Regions from separate parts of the Homo sapiens genome. Here region 2 is linked to region 1. The links are contacts of gene promoters, found by promoter capture Hi-C in human tissues and cell types (Jung and others, 2019). All regions are on one chromosome and are shown on one strand. The core of a region is centred on a gene start or on the middle of the fragment in contact, and the rest is flanking DNA. Distances in the headings are between cores, read along the strand shown. Region 1 holds the start of PPARD (peroxisome proliferator activated receptor delta). Region 2 overlaps SCUBE3 (signal peptide, CUB domain and EGF like domain containing 3).

Region 1 (5,704 bases), core at 3,205-5,704:
AAGCAACTCTAATAAGTTATACCCACCGTAACTCAAAGAGTGTTCCTAAGGTAATCTGGCTCCTCGTCGGTCCCTTACACACCACCCTGAGATGTGATTCTGAGCCTGAGTCAGCAAATATTTCCCCAATCCTGGAAGGAGTCTGCTCACTCCCAAGTAAGCAGACACTGGCTTTGCTGATTTTATCAGGTCGGCGCAGAAGGCGCAGGCAAGGTAAGAAGGGAGCTGGGTAGAAGCTCATAAATGAAGATGTCCTGAGTCATAGTTGATGCCTTCACCAAAGCCCCTGCAGAATGAACTGGAGTCACATGCCAATCACCAGCCTGCTGAGTTATGAAGGCTAGGAGCCATCTGCCAAGGAAGAAGACCCATATGTCTGAAACCTGATGCAAGGGGCCATGTTCTCCCTGCCAGGCTCAAGGCAAGCTCCAAGGGCTCCTCTGACACCCTGGAATCCAGCTGTTGCAAGCAGCTCCTCACCCTGGCTCCAACGGCAGAGAAAAATGTGCATGGACACCAAACCATCTCCAAGAAGCAGCCATTAGGTAATCTGGGACATGGCATTGACAATGGCACCGGGCACAGGGCTTCTGACATCATATAAGCAAGGGCCTGGCAGAACGGACAAAGCCCACAGAGACCTGGGTAGGGAGGAAGAGAATGTTTCCAGTGTGGGCAATGCTGAGCAGTAAAGCTGTGTCCTGCAATTTCCAAGCCCTTCAGAGGCACTGGAGCAAGGCACCACTGTTCAGCTTCCCAGCCTGCAGAGAGCACTCAGGGAGGTGGGCCTCAGGGACAGGATATAGCTGAAGCCCTTAGAAGTGACAGGTCCAGGCTGGTTGTGGTGGCTCACGCCTGTAATCCCAGCACTTTGGGAGGCTGAGGCGGGCAGATCACGAGGTCAGGAAATCGAGACCATCTCGACTAACACGGTGAAACCCTGTCTCTACTAAAACTACAAAAAAAAATGAGCCAGGCGTGGTGGCGGGCGCCTGTAGTCCCAGCTACTCAGGAGGCTGAGGCAGAAGAATGGCGTGAACCTGGGAGATGGAGCTTGCAGTGAGCCAAGATCGCACCACTGCACTCCAGCCTGGGCGACAGAGCGAGACTCCATCTCAAAAAAAAAAAAAAAAAAAACGAAAAAAAAGTGACAGGTCCAACTCCTGAGAGAGAGGAGCTGCACTATCCCAGGATGTGCCAGAATCTGCAGGCCCTGAAGACAGCTTGCACAACAGTCAGGACAGCTGTAGGCCCAAAGCAGAGGCCTAATGGCTTCCCAGGCTAGTGCTCTACACTGTCTATCCTCTTACCAGGCCCTAAGGGAAGGCGTCTAAGGGACCACAGGTCGGGTTGAAAGGCTGAGTAGGAGCAATTCTTCCTGAATGGGTTAAGGCATATATCACACAAGAAGGCCATGGTGAAGAGGCAAGGAGAAAGGCACCTGAACGAGCAGTCAGTGTAATCTCAGTGCTCTGAGAGGCCAAGGTGAGGAGGACTGCTTGAGGCCAGGAGTTCGAGACATTGTGAGAGCCTGTCTTTACAAAAAAATTGTTTTTTAATTAGCTGAGTGTGGTGGTGTGCACCTGTAGTCCCCGCTACTCTGGAGGCTGAAGCAGGAAGATCCCTTGAGCCCAGGAGTTCGAGGTTACAGTGCACTATGATAGCACCACTGCACTCCAGCCTGGGCAATAGAACAAAACCTTGTGTCAGAAAAGAAAGAAGGAAAGAAAATCCAGACCCAGACTCTGCAAAAATCACTGAATGGGGAAGGAATTTGGTAATTGACAATCATGACTACCTTCTCAGAAAATGAGAGTGGACAAACTGCAAGAAGCTATCCATCTAGGGCTGCTGGTGCCCAAGCTGCTCCACAAGGACTGGCCTTGACCTGTTCTCAAATCTCTCACCTGCCACCACAGCAGAGAGCACTACTAAGGGGTAAGCACGGCCAGAAGTAACAAACTGCTCAAAAGAGTAAGGAGGAGTCCTTGAAAGCCAGAGACTAGACTAAAAATCTGTCCAACACTTGACCTCTACCTCTTTAGAATGATCCACTAAAACCCTGGAGAGATGCTATTCACAGGAACAAGGAAAACCCTCTGGTCCAGTCTACCCAAATCTTTGCAAGTGCTGCAAAGGGGGTCTGGGGGTCAGTGGAGAAGGGACTGGCTCAACAACAGGCCATCCACAATCCTATTGCTTTCACAGAAAACAGTGTACAAGAGGATTACAAAACTTTAAAGTCTGGTCAAGCTGGTTCCTTTGGCTCTCCACCGCAGCTCCTAAAGGTTGCCAACTCCCATGTCCAATCTGGCTCAAAGACAGCACAATCATCAAAAGAGGAGCCCCTAGAAACCTGGGGCCAGGTGAAACAATGAGCCTTCATTTCTAAACATGAGAGTGGGTCACGCTTTCAGAATCCTCCAAGATCAGACTGGGTAGAAACAAAGGATATGTTATTTCTTGAATACTTCTTTAGAGAACCAACGCCAAATAAAGGAGCTCAAACTGAAGGATATGACGAGAATCTTCTGCTTGGTAAGGTTAAACATCCAGACACACATGGAAGGTGGTGGGCTCTCAAGCCCCAGAGAAGATGATCTATGTGACTGGAAGCAGATGTGTCTGCTCAAGTTCCTGACAAGGTCTAACTACTGCAGCCCCACAGCCCACCAGGGTAGTTATCAATCTGATACCTCATACTATGCCTGGGCAAAGGGAACAGAGCTCTGGGATTGCCGTTCCTCCTGGATACAGAGGAAATTAAGCTCCCAGGGAAAAAGAGGGACAATTTGGATTCCCTAGATTCAGAAAAGAACAAAGAAAAAAGAGGGAGAAGAGACTCCAAGAGAACATGTTCAGTGACCAACATCAGAGGCACATTCAGTTGGCCAAAGATTGTCAAAGAGATATGAGAGAAAATCAGCAGCTGTTTCAAGCCACCAATAATAAAAGGGGACAGATGCCCGCCAGCCCCAGGGCTATCAGGCCAGCAATCTATTTCAAAACTCAAACGGGAAAAAAAAAAGTTCTGGAGCCAGTACACAGAAAAAAGGTTGAGGACCACAAGTATTTTCTGGAGCACAGCTTCTGGAGAATTCTCTTAGTCCTTTCGGATGGAGCACAGGGTGGAGGGTGGGAGTGAGGGCAGAGAGAGGCTGGGGTATCATGGTATAAGTGTATTCCACACATCCAGAGTGGAAAGACACAAAACCCCGGTTCCTGGAAGGGGAAAAGAATTGGACAAAGCCTCCGGCTACCCGTGGCACACATCCAGCTCAGCGCCGTCTCCCCCAAGGGTTCCTGGAAGTCAACAGCCCCATAAAGGGGAAGTATTAAAGCTGAGATAAGAAGAATGGCCTACAAATTGGACATCATCTCTGATGCAACACCCACGTACATTCTCCCACACAATCTGTTATTTCCTTTAGTCAATCAGCCTCTTAATTCGATCAAGGTCTGAACACCTCCACCCCCACCCCATGGTTATGTCAACTGCAGGTCAAGTGAAAGTAGAGTAGAGTGTGGAGCTAAGGCTTCTCCCTGAAGCAGGGGAAAGGAACAGGGAGAGAAAAGGAGGTGGGCGACAGGAATGTAGGGGACAGAATTGATACGAAGGAAATCGGAAAAAGGAGCAAAAACAGGGCCTCTCAGGGAACCAAGGTGAGAGTCTTAGGGAGACAGGGACTGCAGGCACGGAGTTGGAAAAAGCCTAGGAACACCCTGGGGAAGAGGATGGGGACCCATAATACTAGGAGGGATCAGACCACAGATAAGAAGGGGACAGGGATGGGGAGAGAGAGTAAAGCCTGAGAGAGCAAGGATGGGAGGATGAAGGCAGGAGACAAGGATAACGAGGGGGACAGAGGAAAAGATCCCAGAGAAGACTCTCGCTAGATAGGGCAGTGGATTCAGGAACACCAGAAACGGGTGAAGGAAGAGGTCAGAGGCAGGGGAGGGGAATGGGAGAGGCCCCCGGGCCTGAGACGGGGTTCTCACAAGTGGGAGAAGACGAAGCCACCAGGCCCAAGAGGGGGCAAAGAGTAGGGTGGAAGGAGGCCCGTATTTCGGACTCACTCAAGCAGCTATGGGGGTCCAAGGGCGGGGGGGCGCAGGGTCAGCGGGGCGCCTACATGGCAACGCACGACGGCTGACCGGAGCGGGCCGGAGCATCAGGAAGCCGCCGTGACGCTGTCCGCGGACCCCGGCAGCTCCCCGCACCCCGTTCCCCGCCGCCGGGCCTTGCGCCCCAGTCCCGCTGGCCGCCTCGGCCCAGGCCCGGCGCTTCCCTCCGCCACTTGCCTGACCGCTTCTCTCGTCTCGGACTGACCTGTCCCGGCTGCCTACGGCGCCACCGCCGCCGTCCCGCAGGCTCCGCAGAATTCTCCCGCTCCTGCCAAAACTTTTCCCATTAATCCCCAGGTCCGCGGCGGCCGCAGCGTCACACGCTCCGCGGCCCGGCCCCGCCCCCGCCAGCGAGACGTCACCGCGCTGCTCGGCCTTTCCCTCCCCACGCCCCCTTCCGCCCGGCGGCGGCCAATCACCACGCCTCCTGGAGACTCCCCTAATTCTGCCTCTCCGCCCACCGCACGCTGCCCCGGGCCAGCCTGTGGCGCCCTCTGGTGCGGGATGCGGACGTAGCAGCTAAGGGAGGAGCAGGGGAGCGCCAGGTCCAGTAGAACAAGTCCAGCAAGTGACACAAGAGGGAATTTAAAGCTGGAAGGGAATTTCTAGGTCATCTAGTGCAACCTCCTCATCTTCCAGTGAAGAAACTTAGTCCTAGAAAAGGTACGTGACTTGCAGTGACAAGTCTGGAGAGACTCTTAACCCAGTGCTAGGTCCACTGGAGGAGATCATATCGCCTATAATTTTCAAAAAAGGGCTTTCCGCCTTCAAGAGGCTTCTACAACTGGAAATTTACGGTCTTAGAGTTCTTAACCTTTCTTCCCATGTGCTTATGCAATACGCTTATTCACCTAAAATAGGGGACATCCTCCTTATTGTTGTAGAAAATTCTGTTCTTATTAATCCACATCTTTAAGACCTGGAAGGGACCTATTATCCCAACCTACCGCTTAAGATGTACCACAGGAAACTACCTAGCAGCTGGGAGGCAATCTGGTGGAAGAAGTTGGCTTTCATCTGACGATGAACAAAGCTTGACTCTCAGGTATATGACCAATGCCTCCCCTCCATCATCATTAAAGATGACCCCTCCCCTCTCCTTCGGCCACACCTTCCGTAGGCCGCAAGCTCCTTAGGCCACACCTAGCTATCTGGATGAGTGATTTTTTTTTTTTTTTTTTTTTTTGAGACACAGTTTCACTCTGTCGCCCCTGCTGGAGTGCAGTTGCGCAATCTCAGCCCGCTGCAACCTCCGCCTCCCGGGTTCAAGCGATTATCCTGCCTCAACCTCCCAAGTAGCTGGGATTACAGGCATGCGCCACACGCCCAGCTAATTATTGTAATTTTAGTAGAGACAGGGTTTTGCCATGTTGCCCAGGCTGGTCTTGAACTCCTGGACTCAAGTTATCCTCCCACCTTAGCCTCCCAAAGTGCTGGAATTACAGGCGTGAGCCACCGTGCCTGGCAGGGATGAGTGATTTTTTCCCCCTTCTTTCTGCTTCTCTTTTTCTTTTTCTTTTTTTTCCCCTACTTTTTGAAATGCTTGTGCATTATATTTGTAACTTAGATGTCAACCTCC
Region 2 (5,755 bases), core at 2,698-5,197, 99 kb after region 1:
CTCTTACCCCACTTTAATCAGAACAGCTGCACTGCTTTATGTGTTGGAATTCCACAGTACATTTGATTTGAAATAAGGGTTCAGATGCTTTAAAAATGTTTGAAAAGTATTATTAAAAGTATATTCTTTGAAGTCTGCAAGTTCTAGGTGATTTTTGTTGTCAAGGCTTTTATTTTGATGATAATATAAAAATATTTTGCTAACACTTAACTTTTTTGCAGTGATAATTTATGAAGGATAATTCTATGACTACGACTATAGTTTCCTTTTTTTTTTTTTTTTGAGACTGAGTCTAACTCTTGTTGCCCAGGCTGGAGTGCAATGGCATGATATCAGCTCACTGCAACCTCTGCCTCCCCGGTCCAAGCAATTCTCCTGCCTCAGGGTCCCGAGTAGCTGGGATTGCAGGCGCCCGCCACCACACCCAGCTAATTTTTTGTATTTTTTTAGTAAAGACGGGGTTTCACTATGTTGGCCAGGCTGGTCTGGAACTCCTGACCTCAGGCGATCCACCCGCCTCAGCCCCCCAAAGTGCTGGGATTACAGGCATGATCCACCATGCGCAGCCAGACTATAGTTTCTTAAGGAAGATTTTCTTAAATTGGGATTCACCGACCCAGGGCATCTAGTCCATTCTTCCATGTTGGAAGTATTTATTTTCCTTGAAAAGAAGTCTGTACATAAATTGATTCTGAGAAAGCTGTGCTAGATCTGCCGCTGCTTTTTTTGTTTTTGTTTTTTTGAGACAGGGTTCACTCTTGTCACCCAGGCTGGAGTGCGATGGCGCCATCTCGGCTCACTGCAACCTGCGCCTCCTGAGTTCAAGCAATTCTCCTGCCTCAGCCTCCTGAGTAGCTGGGATTACAGGCGCCTGCCACCGCACCCGGATAATTTTGTATTTTTACAAAATTAAGACGAGGTTTCACCATGTTGGCCAGGCTGGTCTCAAACTCCTGACCTCATGTGATCCACCCGCCTCGGCCTCCCAAAGTGCTGGGATGACAGGCGTGAACCACCACACGCAGCCTATCTGCTGCTGCTTAATGAGGCCTGGGGAGAGAATAGGGGAAGGAAGGGACTTATGCAAAAGTATCTTTCTATACTTCACTTTCCCTATGTCTCTTGGAAGAGGTAGGGACATTTCTTCTCCTCACTTTCCCTTTCTCTTCCAAGTTTTCCCCAAGGTGTAATATAGTGTGGGTGACGCTGCAGTCGGATAGGCTTGGGCTCAAATCCCAGCTTCCCATGGGGCAGGTTCTTTAACTCTCTATACCCCAGTTTTCCCATCTGTAAAGAAGCAATGGAGAAAGCACCTACCTCATAGAGCTATTGTGTCTATCAAGTGAGAATATTCATGTAAGCACTTAGCCTATTGCCTATATATTGTTACATGCTTATTAAATGTTAGCTATCATTATTGTTAATATTCATTCACCTTTAAAATCTCCTGGTGGTTTTCAGAGGCATAGAGCCGGCCATCTCGCACAATGTCTTCTACCAGCTGCTCATAGTCCTCTGCAAAGTCAACCAAGGTGAGGGGCTCAGGGGCGGGAGCTCTTCCTGCTCTCCTGGTTCCCTCTCAAAACTGACATACCTCCCCTTCTCACCCACCTCCTTGGCTTACCATCATAGGTAACATAGGGAATCTGGAAGCCACGGGCGCTGTTGGCCTCGCTTGTCTTGAAGTTGATCCAGAGCTTCCTGGAACGGGCAGTGAAGGCAATGGGACGCTCGTAGGTCTGGCAGGTCTCATAAGTGGTAATGGAGGATGGGGATGCTGGGAAGGCAAGCAGCAGGTCAGTAGAGCAGCAGGGCAGGCTACCCAAGCCCTCCTAGAACGTGGGCTGTACAGCTGGTGGTGGGGGTATAGGGCAAGAGAATCATTCTGACAAAGGCTCCCCCTTCGCATACACACACCCTACCCCACACCCTCTCCCATTGCCCACTGGGCTCATTCCACAATTCCTCCTTGATACCTGGGCACTCACATAGTGTAATAAATATGACATTTAAATGAATGGAATGGCAAAAATGCTAGGATAGGAAAGTGATACATGTAACGCCATTGGAGTTCTAGCCCCACTGCTAGCTTTCTTAACTCTGTTTTCTACCAAACATGTGTCATTGCTGTTTTCCTTTGTTAGCTTCTCTCTTCCTAAAGGCCTCTCACTATTTCACCCTCATAGATCCCTAACTTCACTGCCCCATTTCTTCCTGTATCAGTCTCTCTCTTTGTTCTCCGCCTTAACCAGATTTGGACTGCCCTTCCCTGGCCCAGCTCTGCAAGCCACCCACAGTTCTTTCTCATGACGAGGACGTCCCCACACTCATCCTCAGATGGCAGGAAGATCTCTGGTACCACGATAAGGATCTTGCGCTTGGGTGGGGGGTTGATGTTCCAGATGCACTCCACACCAGCTGGGTAGTTGCCCGGGTAGTTGGGGGACTCAATATAGCCAGTGAACTCACCCAGCTCCCCACCACACTGACGATCTGCAGCCAAACCCCAGTGGATAAAACAAGACAGAGAAGGGAAGTCAGTGGGGAAGTGTGCTGGGGGAATTGAAGAGTTCTGAAGTAGAGGTCAGACATTTATGGGAAGTCTGCGTTCTAGTTCATCATTATTTTCCAAGCTCTGAGTCCATCTTCCTTCCTGCCCTTTTAGTACCTTCTCTTCTCACTTCACCTGTCTCTGCTTCCTCATTAACTGTCTCCAGGGAGAGGGTGTTACAGGGTCCAGCCTAGCAACTGGCCTTGAGATTGAGTGAGTTGGGGAGAGGTGGAAGGTGGAGTTTTCCTGCTCCTCCACCCCCCAGCCCTGCTCCCTGTTGGTTTCACACCCCTCCTTTAGATGTCCACTGCTCCCAGGCCTCTCTCCTCCCTTTTGCACAGCCTGGCTTGCCACGTACTCTTGCATTGGGCCACACTGGTAGAGCCATCAAAGTCTGTGCTTGTGTTTCCTGGACAGCGGCTGCAGAAGTTCTGACGGAAGTCGGGCTGATAGGAGCCCATGGCACAGCGAATACAGCGGTGGATGCTGGTGTTGTAGTAGTGCCCTGGGGAGCACTGGACTGTAGGCAAGGGAGAAGGGCAGGAATCAAGATGGTAGGCAGGTGGGAGTTACGGGGCATGGGATGGACAGGATACATTCATCCTGGAGAATCAGGAGATCAGATACATCAAAGTTCTTTTCTAGGGTCTCAATCTTTCCCAGTCATGCCAGAATTTAAGCCCACGGAAAAACAGAGTTTACAGAGTGGTTGGCTACAGTGCCAATCCTTTTCTTTCAGACGCTGAGCACAGTGCCAAACCTATATAGAAACTCATTTGGGATATGGAGGAGAATATGCCACCAGTTCTCCAAAGTGGAGGGGTAAGTGGGACTGTTAATTATTTCTCAGTTCCCAAGCTTGGGACTAGTGGAGGGGCAGGGTGGGTCCTGGAAGCAGGATGGTATGGTTGGTCAAGTAGCTGGGCCCATTACTGGTTTGGAGAAAATGGTGGGTCAGTGTCCCCTCTGGGAAATTGGAGAGTTTTTTGGGAGTAGTTGGGGTTGGGGCATCCCCCAGGGAGGTGAGTAGCTTACTCACCTTTGGTGTCACAGTCTTGGAAGGAAATGGCCCCTTCATGCTTGGTGGTGAGGCCCCCACCACAAGGGAAGCATAGGGTCCGTCCTGCTTCAGGTTGGTAGGTGCCACGTGGGCATGGCTGACAGGGCTTGAACCCATCTACAGAGTGTTGGCCAGGTGGGCACTGACCTGCAATGAATCAAGGGCCCAACTCTGATGGGGATGGTCCTGAGTCATCCCCATGGGGTCACCCGATCTCAGGGGACAAAGGTATACAAACAGGATGTTGACTAAGAGAGTGGCCTGGAGCCTGGGCCTGCCCTTTGGGAAATCCCATGCCCATGGGCATCCCAGTGCCCACCCTACCCCACTCTGTATTGTTTGTTCCCCTGGCACCTGCACACGTGGTGACGTTGGTGGCTCCAAGAGGCCCGTGGGCATCACTCCCAGGGCAAAGGTCGCAGGAGAGCTGCCCTTCTCTCTCCTGGAAGGTGCCCGCTGGGCATGGCACACACTGCTCCGTCTGGCCGTGGTAATACGTTCCCTGCGGGCAGCTGACTGAGGGAGAGTCGGCCGCGCTAGCCACCCACCCCCGCATTTCCCACCACCCAGGCCTGGGACTCCCCTTCCCACTCCCCGCCACAACCCCCGATTCAGGGAGAATCTCTGTCAGGGAACAAACACAATCCTACTTGGGGGGATAGGAGGGTCAAAACCGTGTGCAGGAGGATTGCTGGCCCCACCTGGCATCCTTCTAGATTTCAGCCTGGAACCAAGGAAGGGAGGACAGCGGGCAGGAGCATCCTGGCTGCCTCATAATTTGAGAAATGCATCTGAGGCCACAAAGGGTCCTGCTCTGAGTCAGGCCCAAACTGGGTCTTTCCTACATCCCTGCTCCCCAGTAAGCTCCCTTACCACACTTGGTCCCAGCACGGTGCTGCCCGGGCCTACAGGACTCCATCGGCTCTGCTCGCTCCCCGGCTACCAGGCCCGGCTTGTGGGCCAGCTCATAATCAAGGCCTGCCAGGCGCAGCAGGAAGCGGTCCTGGTTGATGGACTTTCTGAGCATCTTCAGGGATCCTTTCAGCCGCCGTTCCATTCGCTGTCGGAGGCAGGGCAGCCCACAGCTGGCTGGTGGTGGATGGCCGTGTGTATCAGGGAGGAGAAAGAGTTGCTGTGAGCAGGAGGGCAGGGGAGCAAAGCTGGGAGCTAGGAGGGGCATGGTAAGAGGGACTAGCTTTTAGGCTTGGCACCAGGCAGGGTCTGCCCCTAGTACAGGCTCCATCCCTTCCTTTTGCTGCTGAGACCTGTGGTTTCCCCACCTCTGCCCTCCCCTTCCAGTCCTCTTCCCAACAGTGCCCCCAGTCCCACCTGTGGTTTCTTCGGCTCTGACCTCTGCCTCCAGTTCCAGGGTGAGCCTTGTGACCTCTTTGCCTGGAGGGGTCCGGGCCCGTCGGCCCTTGCCCTTCCGAGAGGAGTCACACTTAAGGTGGATGAAGGTGACCTGGCATTCAGAGCAGGGGGCACCACCTGGGAGAGAGGGCTTGTCAACCCCAGGGACATCCCCTGGAAAGTTCTCACTCCCAGCCCAGACAGACCTCCCCAGATCTCTAACTGTAACTATCTCTCAATCCTGTTTTAGTCTAGGGTCCTAATTAGTTGGTGGAGGGGAATATTCTGGGACTTCCTTGGGTGCTATGCCTACAGCTGCTTTTTCCTCTGCTCTGCCTAGAGTTCAGGGTTCTGGTGGGTTTTTGGAAGCAGAGGAGCTGAGGGGTAAGGAGGATTTAGTGGCCAGACAGCCAACTGGAATGGGGTCCCCAGTCCAAACCTGGCCCTGTGATTCTGCCAGCCTCCTCTGTTTTGCCTTTGTTTCGCAGGTGCAAACGGCATTTGGCATCCTTGATCTTGAAGGAGGCCCGTTGTTTAATGGACAGCACTGCAGCCTCTAGAGGGATGGTAGAAACTCAGCACAGTATGGGATGCCCATGGAGGTCGGGGGTGCCGTAGGGGTTGTTGAGAAGCTGGGTAATAAGCCAGGGGCTTGGCTGGGGGAGTGAGATTATGAAAGTCAAGGGGATCAGATGTTAGGGCAGAGGGAGTGAGGGAGCAGGGTTGGAGAATTACAGGGCAAAAAAGAGGATCCAGGAGAAAGGAAGGCCAGGGGATTGATGAAGAACAAAAAT

Evidence for each region. Contacts are between HindIII fragments. The study calls those that stand out against the background at their distance.
Region 2: a contact is called between a fragment that was not itself captured here and the fragment with the promoter of PPARD in region 1, in 2 of the 25 tissues and cell types used here (liver and spleen).

The regions. Positions count from the first base shown.
Region 1 is chr6:35,341,308-35,347,011 of GRCh38, reverse strand. It overlaps PPARD (peroxisome proliferator activated receptor delta), which reads right to left and starts at 4,454. Exons shown (of 8, transcript NM_006238.5): 1 at 4,331-4,454. RefSeq lists silencers at 3,993-4,042, 4,073-4,212, 4,393-4,602. The HindIII fragment of the contact is 18,171 bases long and covers 1-5,704 here.
Region 2 is chr6:35,241,966-35,247,720 of GRCh38, reverse strand. SCUBE3 (signal peptide, CUB domain and EGF like domain containing 3) reads right to left here. Exons shown (of 22, transcript NM_152753.4): 13 at 5,401-5,517; 14 at 4,941-5,099; 15 at 4,485-4,700; 16 at 3,966-4,127; 17 at 3,591-3,758; 18 at 2,910-3,071; 19 at 2,296-2,493; 20 at 1,625-1,777; 21 at 1,436-1,515. It overlaps SCUBE3-AS1 (SCUBE3 antisense RNA 1), which reads left to right. Exons shown (of 4, transcript XR_001744102.2): 2 at 1,462-1,532; 3 at 3,291-3,373. Among named protein-coding and RNA genes, the nearest start is that of SCUBE3-AS1, 15 kb to the left of the region's middle. RefSeq lists an enhancer at 3,230-4,429. The HindIII fragment of the contact is 7,267 bases long and covers 314-5,755 here.